3 separate regions of the Homo sapiens genome follow, and regions 2 and 3 are each linked to region 1. The links are contacts of gene promoters, found by promoter capture Hi-C in blood cells and fetal thymus (Javierre and others, 2016). All regions are on one chromosome and are shown on one strand. The core of a region is centred on a gene start or on the middle of the fragment in contact, and the rest is flanking DNA. Distances in the headings are between cores, read along the strand shown. Region 1 holds the start of MYH13 (myosin heavy chain 13). Region 2 overlaps GAS7 (growth arrest specific 7). Region 3 overlaps GLP2R (glucagon like peptide 2 receptor).

Evidence for each region. The method cuts DNA at HindIII sites, captures the fragments that hold promoters and counts their contacts. A CHiCAGO score of 5 or more calls a contact.
Region 2: a fragment that was not itself captured here is called in contact with the fragment with the promoter of MYH13 in region 1 in 1 of 17 cell types (monocytes); the score reaches 5.4 in monocytes.
Region 3: a fragment that was not itself captured here is called in contact with the fragment with the promoter of MYH13 in region 1 in 1 of 17 cell types (neutrophils); the score reaches 5.0 in neutrophils.

Annotation. Positions count from the first base shown.
Region 1 is chr17:10,371,040-10,375,470 of GRCh38, forward strand. It overlaps MYH13 (myosin heavy chain 13), which reads right to left and starts at 1,967. Exons shown (of 41, transcript NM_003802.3): 1 at 1,940-1,967; 2 at 170-220. The HindIII fragment of the contact is 11,420 bases long and covers 1-2,440 here.
Region 2 is chr17:9,927,107-9,931,097 of GRCh38, forward strand. The region is part of intron 9 of GAS7 (growth arrest specific 7); the gene reads right to left. Among named protein-coding and RNA genes, the nearest start is that of RCVRN, 24 kb to the left of the region's middle. The HindIII fragment of the contact is 1,356 bases long and covers 891-2,246 here.
Region 3 is chr17:9,867,586-9,872,092 of GRCh38, forward strand. It overlaps GLP2R (glucagon like peptide 2 receptor), which reads left to right. Exons shown (of 13, transcript NM_004246.3): 10 at 3,162-3,250. Among named protein-coding and RNA genes, the nearest start is that of RCVRN, 35 kb to the right of the region's middle. The HindIII fragment of the contact is 1,919 bases long and covers 1,274-3,192 here.

The DNA.
Region 1 (4,431 bases), core at 717-3,216:
TGGTAAAACCTGTATATATTTTAAAATCTACCTTTAAGAATAGTTAAGTTATTGGTTTCAAACTCATCAATTTCGTCTTCTTATGAGTGTGGCAAGAATGAGAACGTGTAAAATGATGTTTGCTAATTTCAATGATTGCATTCATGATCAAGCTGAAAATAACCCTTACCTTCTTGGTTCCCAAGTGACAGTCAGTGTCCTTCAGGAATAAAGCGTCTTCCTGGGGATAATTTGAGAAAAAAAAACAAACCAAAAAAACCCAAATGAGCTACAAAGAGTTTAAATAAATATAGAAACCATGTTTGTTCCAGTTTATCTACCTTAAATAGATACACAGTAGATGGTGTGGAATGAAATAAATTTGCTGTTTTGAATTTTTACTTTTGATTAAAATCATTATTCTTTAAATAGTTGGTTAATTACAACATTTAATTAATACTCTCTTGAGAAACTTCTGTGTGTACAATGTACTGTGTCAGCTCCTTAAGGGGGTATGAAGAGGAAAGTACAGTATCTGCCCTATAGGAATGCAAAAGTTAGTAAGGGATAAGAGAATGCTCAAGTAAGTCTTTGAACAGGATTAAGACAAATTTTTAAGGAGTCTAAACAAAGTACTATGGGAACTTAGAGAAACCGCTTCTGACTGGGGGGCTGTGAGGGGTCAGGGAAGAAAGAAAGTAGGGAGGGGAATGCTCCAGATTGCAGCTTGGATGCTTAGGGGCAGTCACCTTTTTTTGGCAATAGGAGAAAAGTTATAAATTGTGGACAAAGACTTCTTTATTCTCTTCAATGCTCTAAATTCCTCCTGCAGATGATGAAGGTAGGGCAGCTGAAAAGTCACCTGGGACTAAGGAATCTCAGCTCTAGGAGTTTATAAACTACGTGGCTATCTCAAGGAGGCATGAGTGTCTGAAAAATTTTCAATATCAAATGTAATCTAAGCAAACTTCCCAATTACCATTCAGTGCTTTTATGGAGCCAGGGGAATATTTCATGAAGCCCTATTTAGGCAGGAACAGACACTTAGGATTTGGTTTACTATCCTTGTTGCCTCCTTCCTTCTCCGTCTTTAATGCATCTTAAATAATCTCCAGTTATATCCTAAAATTCTCACAATTTCTTAAAAAATTAAAGTATTACATACTATATTCTGAATCCTCAATTTAAAAAAATATGGAGGCAGAGCTACAGAAATTCTAATATCAGTTCTGTTAAGTAGCTGGTATGATTTCTTTGGGTTTCTGTTTCCTTCCGTAAAATGAATCAGATGCACCAGAAAATCTCCAAGATTCCTTTCAGCCCTATGAGTCTATAACAGACAGTTCTCCGTAGAGATGGTGGCCTGAATTCAAAGTATCACAAATCTCTGAGGGATGCTATTGCACTGTCAGACACAGTCCAGTCCCAAGTCCATAAAATATGCCATGTGAGAACAGTCTGCAAACCAGTCAATTCATATCAGACTATGACACTTTGTAAGATGGGTAAGATGCTTGGGATTATTTCCTCCCACAACCATTTTTCAGAAATCCTGACATGGGAAACAAATTAAATAAACATAAAAATTTCAAATAATAGCTTAAGCAATCACAGAAGAGATACCACAAGTTACCAAGTTAATTTGCTAACTGAACAGTATAACATTGACCTAAATAATCAGAGGAGGAATCATGCATTATACTCAGTTTTGTTCTGCAGGTGAATATTTTTTGTCTTATAATTGCTTATATTCTTGTCTTTTCACCCCTTGTAAAAGTTTCTTGAAAGGCAGTTGTCTTGTCTTTCCATCTTGTCTCCAACCTTGCCCTCAACACAAGACCTTGCACTTAGTAGGCCCTCCGTAAAGGCTACTTTATTGTCTTCCCCCCTTGACTGGTAACCTGATCAGGTGCAACTATAGCTACGTGGAGCAAAAAAGTGAGCACTTGTGAGCACTTACCTAGAGATGCTGCGGTCACAGCAATTTCAGGAGTGTGACCCCCCAGCTCTCTTTATACTCCCAAATCTGCCAGCCCAGCACTCTAACTTGGCTATATTTGGGGGAGCACCATTTACTTGTTAGATGTAAATGCGTCGTAGCCCTGATCTCTCACTCTTGTTAAGTTACTTGGATAAATGACCAGTGGAGGCTGCATAATGCCAAGTCAGCTGCATAGGGATTTTGACGTTGGACACAGATCTTTGAGACTTAGAGAGTCCTAGGGGCTGAGTGGAACTGGAGCAGAGTGTGCTAAGAAGGTCACTGAAGGGCAGAACCACAGGATGCTTTGTCAAGCAATGGGTGATCAGTAGTGTGGACAGTAACTACACCTCATTTACCCAGCATTGGTATGGGATGGTGTGCTTCTCATCTCAGAAATCTCTGGAAATTTAAGGTTGACCTTTTAACACATCCAGTCTTATTTATGTATTTGTTTGTTTAAAAATCTACTGGAAGAAAAGCTTTCCAAAATGTATTTTACATTATCCTGCTCTGTGTAACCTACTATCTTGAATAGAATTTAAGTTTTTCTTGATCACTCTGGGGGTCTGGGAGATGATATAATAAAGTCATCAAGGATCTGGTTCTTAGTGGATCATGCCTGCACTAATTGTTCCTGCTGTGAATTTTGGTGTATACTTTTATTTATTATTATTATTATTATCGAAACAGAGTCTTGCTCTCTCCTCTAGGCTGGAGTGCAGTGGCGTGATCTTGGTTCGCTGCAAACTCCATTTCCCAGGTTCAAGCAATTCTCTTGTCTCAGCCTCCCAAGTAGTTGGGATTATAGGCATGTGCTATAATCCCATGTGTTATATATAGGCATGTGCTATAATCGCCCAGCTAATTTTTATATTTTTAGTAGAGACAGGGTTTCACCATGTTGGCCAGGGTGGTTTCGAACTCCTGACCTCAAGTGATCCTCCCGCCTCGGCCTCCCAAAATGCTGGGATTACAAGTGTGAGCCACCACACTTGGCCTTACTTTTTAGATTTTCTGTCTTTGCCTTCATGGCCAGCCTCTCAGGTATAATTTCTTTCTGTGGTAAGTTTGTCTTTACTAGCCTGATTTTGTATTATTGATTGGGAAAGAGATTACAAAATTAAGATCAGGCTAAAGTAAGAGTAAATAAGTTCTGAGTGCAGCTCTAGTGGGTTCTAATGAAAATACGTGGACTTTGTGACAATTATAGTTACTTAGGAGTTTTTTTATTTTTTGCTAAAATATAAGTGATGTTTGACTATGTAGGAACAACTGTATATGTAGAAGTTAGAGCCATTTACTGCAATACAGTGTGATCTGTTTAAATTGTATATAATCAGTGTTTGTTGAATCAAAGTTTCCTTAATCAGTCTCCAGTGGGTAGAATTTCATGTAGGTAGGGCATTTCCAAAAGATAGTTTGCATTAATCAAAGTGAATTTTAGACCAGAGGAGGAGCAGGTAGAGATAGGACTTCCACAAAGTATTTTCTCTTCCTTCCTTCCTTCCTTCCTTCCTTCCTTCCTTCCTTCCTTCCTTCCTTCCCTCCCTCCCTCCCTCCTTCCTTCCTTCCTTCTTTCGTTCCTTTCTTTCTTTCTCTCTCTTTCTTTCTCTTTCTTTCTTTTTTTTTTTTGAGACAGAGTTTTGCTCTTGTTGCCCAGGCTGGATTGCAATGGCGCGACCTCCGCCCACCACAACCTCCGCCTTGTGGGTTCAAGCGATTTTCCTGCCTCAGCCTCCCGAGTAGCTGGGATTACAGGCATGTGCCACCAGGCCCAGCTAATTTTGTATTTTTAATAGAGACGGGGTTTCACCATGTTGGTCAGGCTGGTCTCGAACTCCCGACCTCAGGTGATCCGCCTGCCTTGGCCTCCCAAAGTGCTGGGATTACAGGCATGAGCCTGGCTTCCACAAAGTATTTTCTAAAGTAGATTTGACAGAATGCAGATTGGGAGGGTCGCTTCGAAATAAATGGTCCTGTGGTTAAATGAGCTTAAGAAATGTGTTAAACTCTATTCCCTCCTGTTAGAGATTCATCATAAATATTAGCATATTAAGGGATGTGAGAAGCCCTTCAGTAAAGAAATATGAATACTTTTTTTTTAGACCTGGAACTTCCCTAGGTGATTTGATGTTGGAACACAAACTTATTTATTTCCTGTTCCAGAAAACAAGAGAGGAAAGGCTGAAGGACATAATCCATAGCAAAGTTCTGGCCCAGAAGAAAGCAACCGAGAGTGATCAGCCCTAAGCACAGTTGCTTTTATTTGAGGTGCAGCCTTTTGCATGTAGCAGATGCTCAGTAAATGTTCGTCCTGGTGAATAAATGAATCAAGATGACTCATAGGGGAGTCATCCTGACTCATGTGTTGAAAGGCCTGAAGTGATAAGAAAAGAATGGAATCAGACTCTGAGTTTCATTTAATGGTAATAATTAAGACTTAAGAACTAGGCTGGGTGCAGTGGCTC
Region 2 (3,991 bases), core at 319-2,818, 440 kb before region 1:
ATATGCTGTTTTGAAATATGTATATATTGTGGAATGGCTAAATCAAGTTAATAATCAATGGGCTGGGCACGGTGGCTCATGCCTGTAATCCCAGCACTTTGGGAGGCCAAGGCAGGTTGATCACCTGAGGTCAGGAGTTCGAGACCAGCCTGGCCAACATGGTGAAACCCCATCTCTACTACATACACACACACACACACACACACACACACACACACACACACACACAAATTAGCTGGGAGTGGTGGCAGGTGCCTGTAATCCCAGCTACTCAGGAGGCTGAGGCAGGAAATCACTTGAACCTGGGAGGTTGCAGTGAGCCGAGATTGTGCCACTGCACTTCAGCCTGGGTGACAGAGTGAGACTTGGTCTCAAAAAAAAAAAACAAAACAAACAAACAAAAAACAATAATAATCAATGACCTCACACACTTATTTTATCCCACAGCTTCTTGCACGGCTTTGTTCTTATGTCTCTCTCCCTTATTTTCCGAACTGAGAGCTTTCTGGGGACAGAAACCACATCAGCGTCTGTGTCTCCAAGCACTCAGCACAGTGACTGGGGTACGCGGCTTCAGTAAAGAACAGTCGAATGAATGCCATTCAATTAGAAGGTCTCAGGTCAGTCCTATTTATCGAACATCTACTCCATGGCAGGTGCTGAGAATACAAAGGTGAGCTAGACAGGGTCCAAACCTCGAGGAACTGATGGTGGGAACTGTTGGAGACCTGCTGGAAACTCACAAGGGCAACTGTCCCGCATTGCGCTCATAAAGACATTCTCAGCTTGCTGGGCTGCCTGGAGCACAGGCAAAGGGAACCGCCCTGTATCCCAGGGGCCAGAGAAAAGGGTTTATGCTGTCAGAAGAGCTGGGTGGCATCAGGGTTTTAAGCTTTTTTCTTCTCTTTTATTCCTTCCCTCTTTCCCATCCCACCCCCCTTTAAAAGAACTTTTCCTTAAAATTTGTTCCTTTTGTTTGTGAGCATAACATTTATTTATTTTTTATTTATTTATTTATTTTTTTGAGACAGAGTCTCGCTCTGTCGCCCAGGCTGGAGTGCAGCGACGCGATCTCGGCTCACTGCAAGCCTCGCCTTCCAGGTTCACGCCATTCTCCTGTCTCAGCCTCCCGAGTAGCTGGGACTACAGGCACCTGCCACCACGCCCGGCTAATTTTTTTTTTTTTTTTGTATTTTTAGTAGAGATGGGGTTTCACCGTGTTAGTCAGGATGGTCTCGATCTCCTGACCTCGTGATCCGCCCGCCTCGGCCTCCCAAAGTGCTGGGATTACAGGCGTGAGCCACCGTGCCCAGCCCATAACATTTATAAGAAAACAGATCAACGGGACCTGCTGTGGTCAAAGCCAGGTGGCACCCTAGCCCTGTGCACCCCTCCCACCCCACTGCCTGGAATCAGGCAACTCTCTTCAACCTATGACCACCCCACCACCGCAAATCTGCCTCCACCGGTCTTAGAGGTGTCTCTAGGGAGCACAGCTCAACTTCCCTGGACAGATGATATCCCAACGAGGGTTCTGTGACTTCTCTCCTCTCCCTCAGGTTTTTGCTGTACAATATCTTTTTCTCTGGATACAACCAGGACTTAGGTGTCCCTATTCTAAGCAACTGACTTACACGGGGCTGGGAGCTCCAAGCGGGCAGGGGCCCCATCTGGGTTGAGCACTGCTGTGCCCAGTGTCTGACCTGGGCTGGGGCTGGGTGGGTGCCCCTTCTGTGTTTGTAGAGAGAATGACAAACTCTTCAGAGCTCAATCCCCTGGGTGACAAGAAGACAGCTTTGTCGCTGGATGACCGTCACAGACTAACAGAGAACTGGCCATCCAAACACCCCTCTCTCCTCCTCGTGTTAGTTGTAAATATGTCCTACTATTTTTTTTGAGCCCCTGGAACCTTCCCTGTATAGGAAAACATCCCCACCTGGCGGCAGTTTGCAGGATGCTACAAAAATCTTGAGAGCTTACGAGAATAAATAAACCCCTTTCCCACGTATATAGGTTTGGCATTTGCTGAGTAGGAGCAGCTGTACGACTCCGGGAATCTGGGAGAGTTAGCTCAGCCTGCTGACTCAGAAACTCCGGGGTCTCTAAGGACATGGAAAGCAAGTGACTTTCAGGCTTTAATACGCCCAGGAATGACCTGAAGAGTTTTCAACATTAAGGTTTCCTGGACCCCAGCCCCAGGTTCTGTGGTCTGGGGAAAAGCCCATGAACCTGCCAATATGCCAGGAAGCTTTCCCCAAATTCAAATGACATTCTGGAAGCGTGACGCTGCTAACTATCACAAGTGATTTGATTCCACAGATGAGGATGCCTGGCATCTCCATCTCGCTACAGACATCAAGTATTTTATTTATTTATTTATTTTTTTGAGACGGAGTCTCACTCTGTCTCCCAGGCTGGAGTGCAATGGCGCAATCTTGGCTCACTGCAAGCTCCACCTCCCAGGTTCAAGCCGTTCTCCTGCCTCAGCCTCCCAAGTAGCTGGGATTACAGGCACCCGCCACCAAACCTGGCTAATTTTTTTTTGTATTTTTAGTAGAGACGGGGTTTCACCATGTTAGCCAGGATGGTCTTGATCTCCTGACCTCATGATCCGCCCGCCTCGGCCTCCCAAAGTGCTGGGATTACAGGTGTGAGCCACTGTGCCCGACGATATTAAGTACTTTTAAAAGACAGTTTTTTTTTTCCTTTAAAATGGTTAGGCTGGTATCTTTAGTACCCATTCTTAACTTTTAAGCATCTCTGTTGAACCAGGAATCAGAAGTCCTTCCTCAAAGTGTCCTCACAGACTCAGGCCGGCCTGTCATGGCCCATCAGTTTTTCTTTCCAAAACTCTCGCTCTCTTTGCTTCCTTTTCATCTCACACATCAGAAGAGAATAAGAGAAGTTCCAAGTTGGTAGGAATTTCAGACACTGTCTAGTCTGATATTTTTCAGACGGTGTGCGGCCGAGAGTTGTGAAATCGATTTAATGGGCCAGGACCAGCTTTTTGGTGAGAACAGACCAGACTTGAACAGAAAATACCAGAGTACATTTTAAGTAGGAGGATAAATACTGTTTTATGAAACGTTTGTTTCAGCTACAGATGTGTGTGAATGTCTGTGTGCAGATATCGGAGTGGATACCTACAGACAGGTTCTGAATGCTCACATAAAATGCATCATTGTAAGTCACTGTCAGATAAGTGTAAAGAGACTGATCTGGTCTGAATTCTTCATTTCATATGTGAAGAAATGAAACCCCAGGGGAGCTAAGTGACTTGCTCAAGGTCACAGAGCTTGTTAGTGACAATACTGAGATACAACTCATGTCTCCTCACTCCTGTCCCCTAAATCTTCTGATGGAACGCAGAGCCTCTACCGCATGAGATTTTCTATCAGCAGAAGGAATTCTGCTCTTCTCCCTTCTTCAGCAGGAGCCAGGTATAACTTTCTTTGTATACGGCTCTCTCATTTCTTTAGCAATCTGTTGCTATTAGCAATGGCTTGAGCTAATGGACCAGAAAAACCACAAAAATTGCTGCAACAAAATTGCATTTCTTAAAGAGCTTTTACCCCTGACACAGAGCATTCAGAGCAGAATTTCAATAAGTCTTTTGGAGCAGACATTAAAAACGGTTTTTGGCATATGGAGCTATATTATTCATGGCAGTCAAATACATCCTTGGAGCCACTTTCTTCTCAAGGAATCGCCATAAAACCACTAGGCTGCTGCGATGACCGCTTGAGGCCACCAACACTGACCGACAGGCTGGAAGCAGCCGAGAGCCTCTCGTAGCAAAGTCTGTTTTGCATGACGGGTCTTCATGAGCTTCCTGTCAACTGAATGGTGAGGTCCACCCTGTGTCCTGAACACTAACTTAAAATGTTCTGAGCATGTGGTTGTCCAGGGCCAGTCTGCAGTAGCCCATTGGCAACCCCTGGAAAGGCACAGGCTCAAGAAGAGGCTGTGTTTTCAATGCCATTGGTCTGCC
Region 3 (4,507 bases), core at 983-3,482, 500 kb before region 1:
TACAGCCTAGTCTCCCCAGCCCTCAGTAGAATATTGGTAAAGTCTTGATTAGTCCTGCTCAAGGACAGCCTTAGACAATAATTACATCATGCAAGGTCATTCTATCCATACCCTGCACCCTGCAGTTAACAGACCCGGTGAAATGGCTGTTTTGAGCTAACAAATTGAATGAACCATCTGTTGACTTTATGAAATCATAAAGTCAAAAGCCTGCATTTGCTATTGTTGAATCTTCCGTGATAGCCTCAGAACTTGGCAAAGTTGATGCACTGGTAAAATTTGTCTTCACTGGCCTTGTCCCTCTTTAGGTCCTCTGCCCCACCAGGAACCCAGGGGCTTTCTGTGGCTTCAGGCTTCCCAAGACATTTCCTCACTCCTGTGCTCTCCTCTTCTAAAGACTTAAAGTGTGACTCTCCCTGTACTCTGGGTTTTCCCACCCCATCAAAACTTAGCTTTGCTACACCCCATCTTCTGCTTTAAATGGTGATAATAAGCCAGAGCCTAGGTAACTTACTGAAGTCTTCATTGTTGCAAAAATGAATGAATGAATGAAAGGAGAAAGGGCTTCCTTCCTCCTCTCCCAGTGATTCCTTAGCTTCAGTGGGTTGTGTGCCTTTCAGCAGGGCTCTTGGGGAAAGAGTGTTTTGACTCACAAGAGTAGCTCTACAGGATTAGCATTTTAGTCCACACAGCAGGCCAGAGGAGGAGGGGTTTGGCGGTAGATGGAAGAGTTTAGGGGTAGATGAGGCCTACCCCTGAGCTCCCGCTATACCGGCAATCACCTCTGCCAACTTGTAGGCCCAGATCTGTGCACAGAAGCTGGGGTAACAAGAAAGTGTCACCAAGAATGTCACATCTGAGAATGCATCTGGGATAGATCCTTATATATTTGGGGTCCTTAGCACCCACCCCCATCTGGTCACAAAATCCTGGAGGAGTTGGCTGGGTTCTTGGAAAATGTCCTCACTCAGCCCCTTTCCTGCTTGTGTGAAAATGAAGAACAGCACCATCCAAAAGTACCTGCTGACTCTTGTCTTCTTGGAAGCCCAGATGAGCAGAGGCTTCATGGTACCCCCAGCTAGGGTTTCATCCTGTGGCAGTGAGGAAGTGCCTCCTTCGTACGTTCTATGGGTTGATGCCCATTTTCTCATGTCTGGTCTCTGGAAGACACAGAGAACAGTGAATCAACATGCTTCCCATTATAACCTTTCATTGCCTAGGAGACAGTCCTGATTGAAATTAATTTGCTGAAATAAATGCCTTTCTGCTGTTAAGCTTGCTTTGTAAGAAAAATGCCTATGTTCAATAAATCACTAAGCCAAGGACACAACGTTTTCTCTTTATGATGAGAGGCAGATATCCCATTAAAAGAAATACATTACTTGATTACATTTACCTTGTATTTAAACTTTCTGTTCCTAAATATTCTTTGGCTAGGAACCTCCATCATTCCTGCTGGCTTCAGGCCCTCACATCCAGTCAATAACAAAGATCATTTGACTCATACTTCTTCATCATTTCAAATTGATCCCTTCCTCTCCATCATGGAAGCACCAGAACTGCTGCTGATTTCTTTTCTCCATCACCGTCCCCCAGGAACTCTGAAACTACTTCCCAACTGATCTCCCCTCCTCCAGCCTTACCCTCACCCAATCCATTCTCCACACTGCTGCTGAAATTATCTTTCTGAAATGCAGAAGTACAAATCTGATCAGGTCACTTGCGTGCTTAAAATCTATCACTGGCTCTTCATTGCTTTCAGAAGAAAACCCAAACTCCTTACCTACCACGGCTGTGAAAGACCCTGCAGAAACGGACCCCCCTCTCCTGCCCAGTCTCACTTCTCACAAACCCTGTTCTCATTCTCCAAGCTCTACCCAAACCCAGCCACCTGCTTTTCACCACTTCCAGGGGGCTCTTGATCTCTCCCGAGGCTGCAGCCAAGACGGCAGCCAGGGCCGCAGCCATCTGAAGGCTTGGCTGGGGCTGGAGGATCAGCTCCCAAGGTGGCGCACACACGTAGCTGGTGGTGGGTGGTGCTGGTTTTGGGCCTGAGAACTCAGTTACCCCACGTGGATCTCCCAACAGGCTGCTTGAGTGTCTTCACAAAATGGTGGCTGACTTCCCCTGGAGTGAGAAACCTAAGAGAGAGAGAGAGAGAAAGAGAGAGCTGGGTGGAAGCCAGCCATCCTTTTGAGGACCTAGCCCAGAAGTCACATAGCACCACTTCTATGACACCATATTCTTTTCGTTAAGTGCAAGTAACTAAATCTAGCTCACCTCACAAGGGGAATAAGGGGGATTAGCCTCCACTTTTGAAGGCAGAAGGGCCAAGGAATTTGCAGGCATATTTTTAAATTTCTTTAAAGGCTGACAATGGAGGGCTGGATTTTCCCAGTCCATGACAGTCGTGGAATGTATTCTAGGGAGTAGAGAGCATATTCTGTCTATGAATTCCATAGCAGCAACAGGATCTCAAGTTAGACACCAATAGGGATGGAGTTCTTTACAGAAGAGAGGCAGAATAGCGTTCTGTTTAAGTGAAGGGAGGGTTATAATCCCATGAATCTGGGTTTAATTACAGGCTTAATCACTGACTAGCCATGCAACCTGGGAATTACACTTACTTCTCTGTGCCTGTTTTCTCATTGTTTTATGAGGATAAAAATAGTTGTGGCTACCTTAAGGGGATGTTGTAAAAACTAGATACAAGAATGCCTGGACCATTCTTAGCCCAAAGCCTGACATGGTGCTAAGTACTAAGTGATAAGTACTCAATACGTGGTAGTTAATAATAATAACAATAATAGTAATAATAATAATGTGAACGTCCACCTGCCTTTCTAGATGGCCTTAATGATGGGCCTCCTTAAGGCAGAATAATAAACTAAATCACTTTCTGAAATTCCTTCCAGACTTTCAGTTCAGATGACCTTTGGGACTTTGGAGATTCAGATGGCCTTTGGGACAGTGGAGATTCAGATGGCCTTTAGGACAGTGGAGATCACAGCTAAGCATTTACTACCTGGCCAGCTAACTGCTGAATTGCCCCTGGTTTACATTGAACTGATGGAACTGATGGCCGAGCCCAGCCTGACCTTGAAGTTCACAGCTATGTGGAATTCGTCACTTACTTACCCAATTCTGCTCTTTTTTTCAAGGTCAATTTCTTCATCTTCCTGAAAATTCTCAAGCTTCTCATTTCTAAGCTCAAAGCTCATCAAATGTGCTTCAGAGATTATAAATACAGGTGAGTGGCTTAAGGTTGGTCCCCAGCAGTCCAAGGTTATTGTAAGTACTCTGGCTGTTCTGCCCGCTGTCTTGGGAAGGACATTTATCTCCTAAGGCCAGGGTATCAGAAAGAGCAGTTCTGGGAAGGTGCTATAGGATCAAGTGAGGCTTTTGTCAATGGTGAGGACCTTCTATGACGATGAAGCAAATGGTGAGTAGTCAAGGGCATTCACATCCCCCAGCAGAAAACTGTTAAAATGCCCCTAAGAGGGCAGGAGTGATGTCTCAGACCTGTAATCCCAGGACTTTGGGAGGCTGGGACAAGAGGATTACTTGAGGCCATGAGTTTGAGAACAGCCTGGACAACATGGTGAAACCCCGTTTCTACCAAAAATACAAAAGTTAGCCAGGCGTGGTGCATGCCTGTAGTCCCAGGCTAAGGTGAGGGGCTTGCTTGAGCCCAGAAGGTCGAGGCTGCAGTGAGCCATGATTGTGCCACTGCACTCCAGCCTGGGTGACCCTGTCTCAAAAAAAAAAAAAAAAAAGTTTCTAAGAATGGGTGGTTGTGGGAAAAGGACAGTCTTGTTTGAAGAGAAGTTTGGCAGTTGCCTTCCTTGGGGAAGGATTTGAAGAGAAGAGATTATTTGGGTGTTTTTGAGACCTTGAGAAATGAGACCACAAACTTTTAGGGTCTAAGGAAAGACATCCTTCCACAGGCATCCTTTAATTGTGACTTGTTGTCGCTGCATCTCACCTTCCTCTTTCTGAGATGACAGCAGTCCTCATTCATAGTCAGTCAGATCATAGGTATTTATTAGATCTGCATTGTTGTAAAAGCAAATGAATGAATGAAGAGAGATAAAGGGTTTCCTCCCTCTTTTCCTAGTTATTCTTTACTTTCTTTCTTTTTTTTTTTTTTTTTTTTTTGACAGAGTCTTGCTCTTGTCGCCCAGGCTGGAGTGCAATGGCATGATCTCAGCTCGCTGCAACCTCCACCTCCCAGATTCAAGCCATTCTCCTGCCTCAGCCTCCTGAGTAGCTGGGATTACAGGCACCTGCCACCACGTCCGGCTAATTTTTGTATTTTTAGTAGAGACAGAGTTTCACCATGTTGGCCAGGCTGATCTCAAACTCCTGACCTCATGATCCACTAGCCTTGGCCTCCCAAAGTGCTGGGATTACAGGCGTGAGCCACCACACGTGGCCTATTCTTTGCTTTCTATGTGGCATATGCATTCAGCAGGGCTCTGGAACGGGAGTGTTTTAACCCACAGAG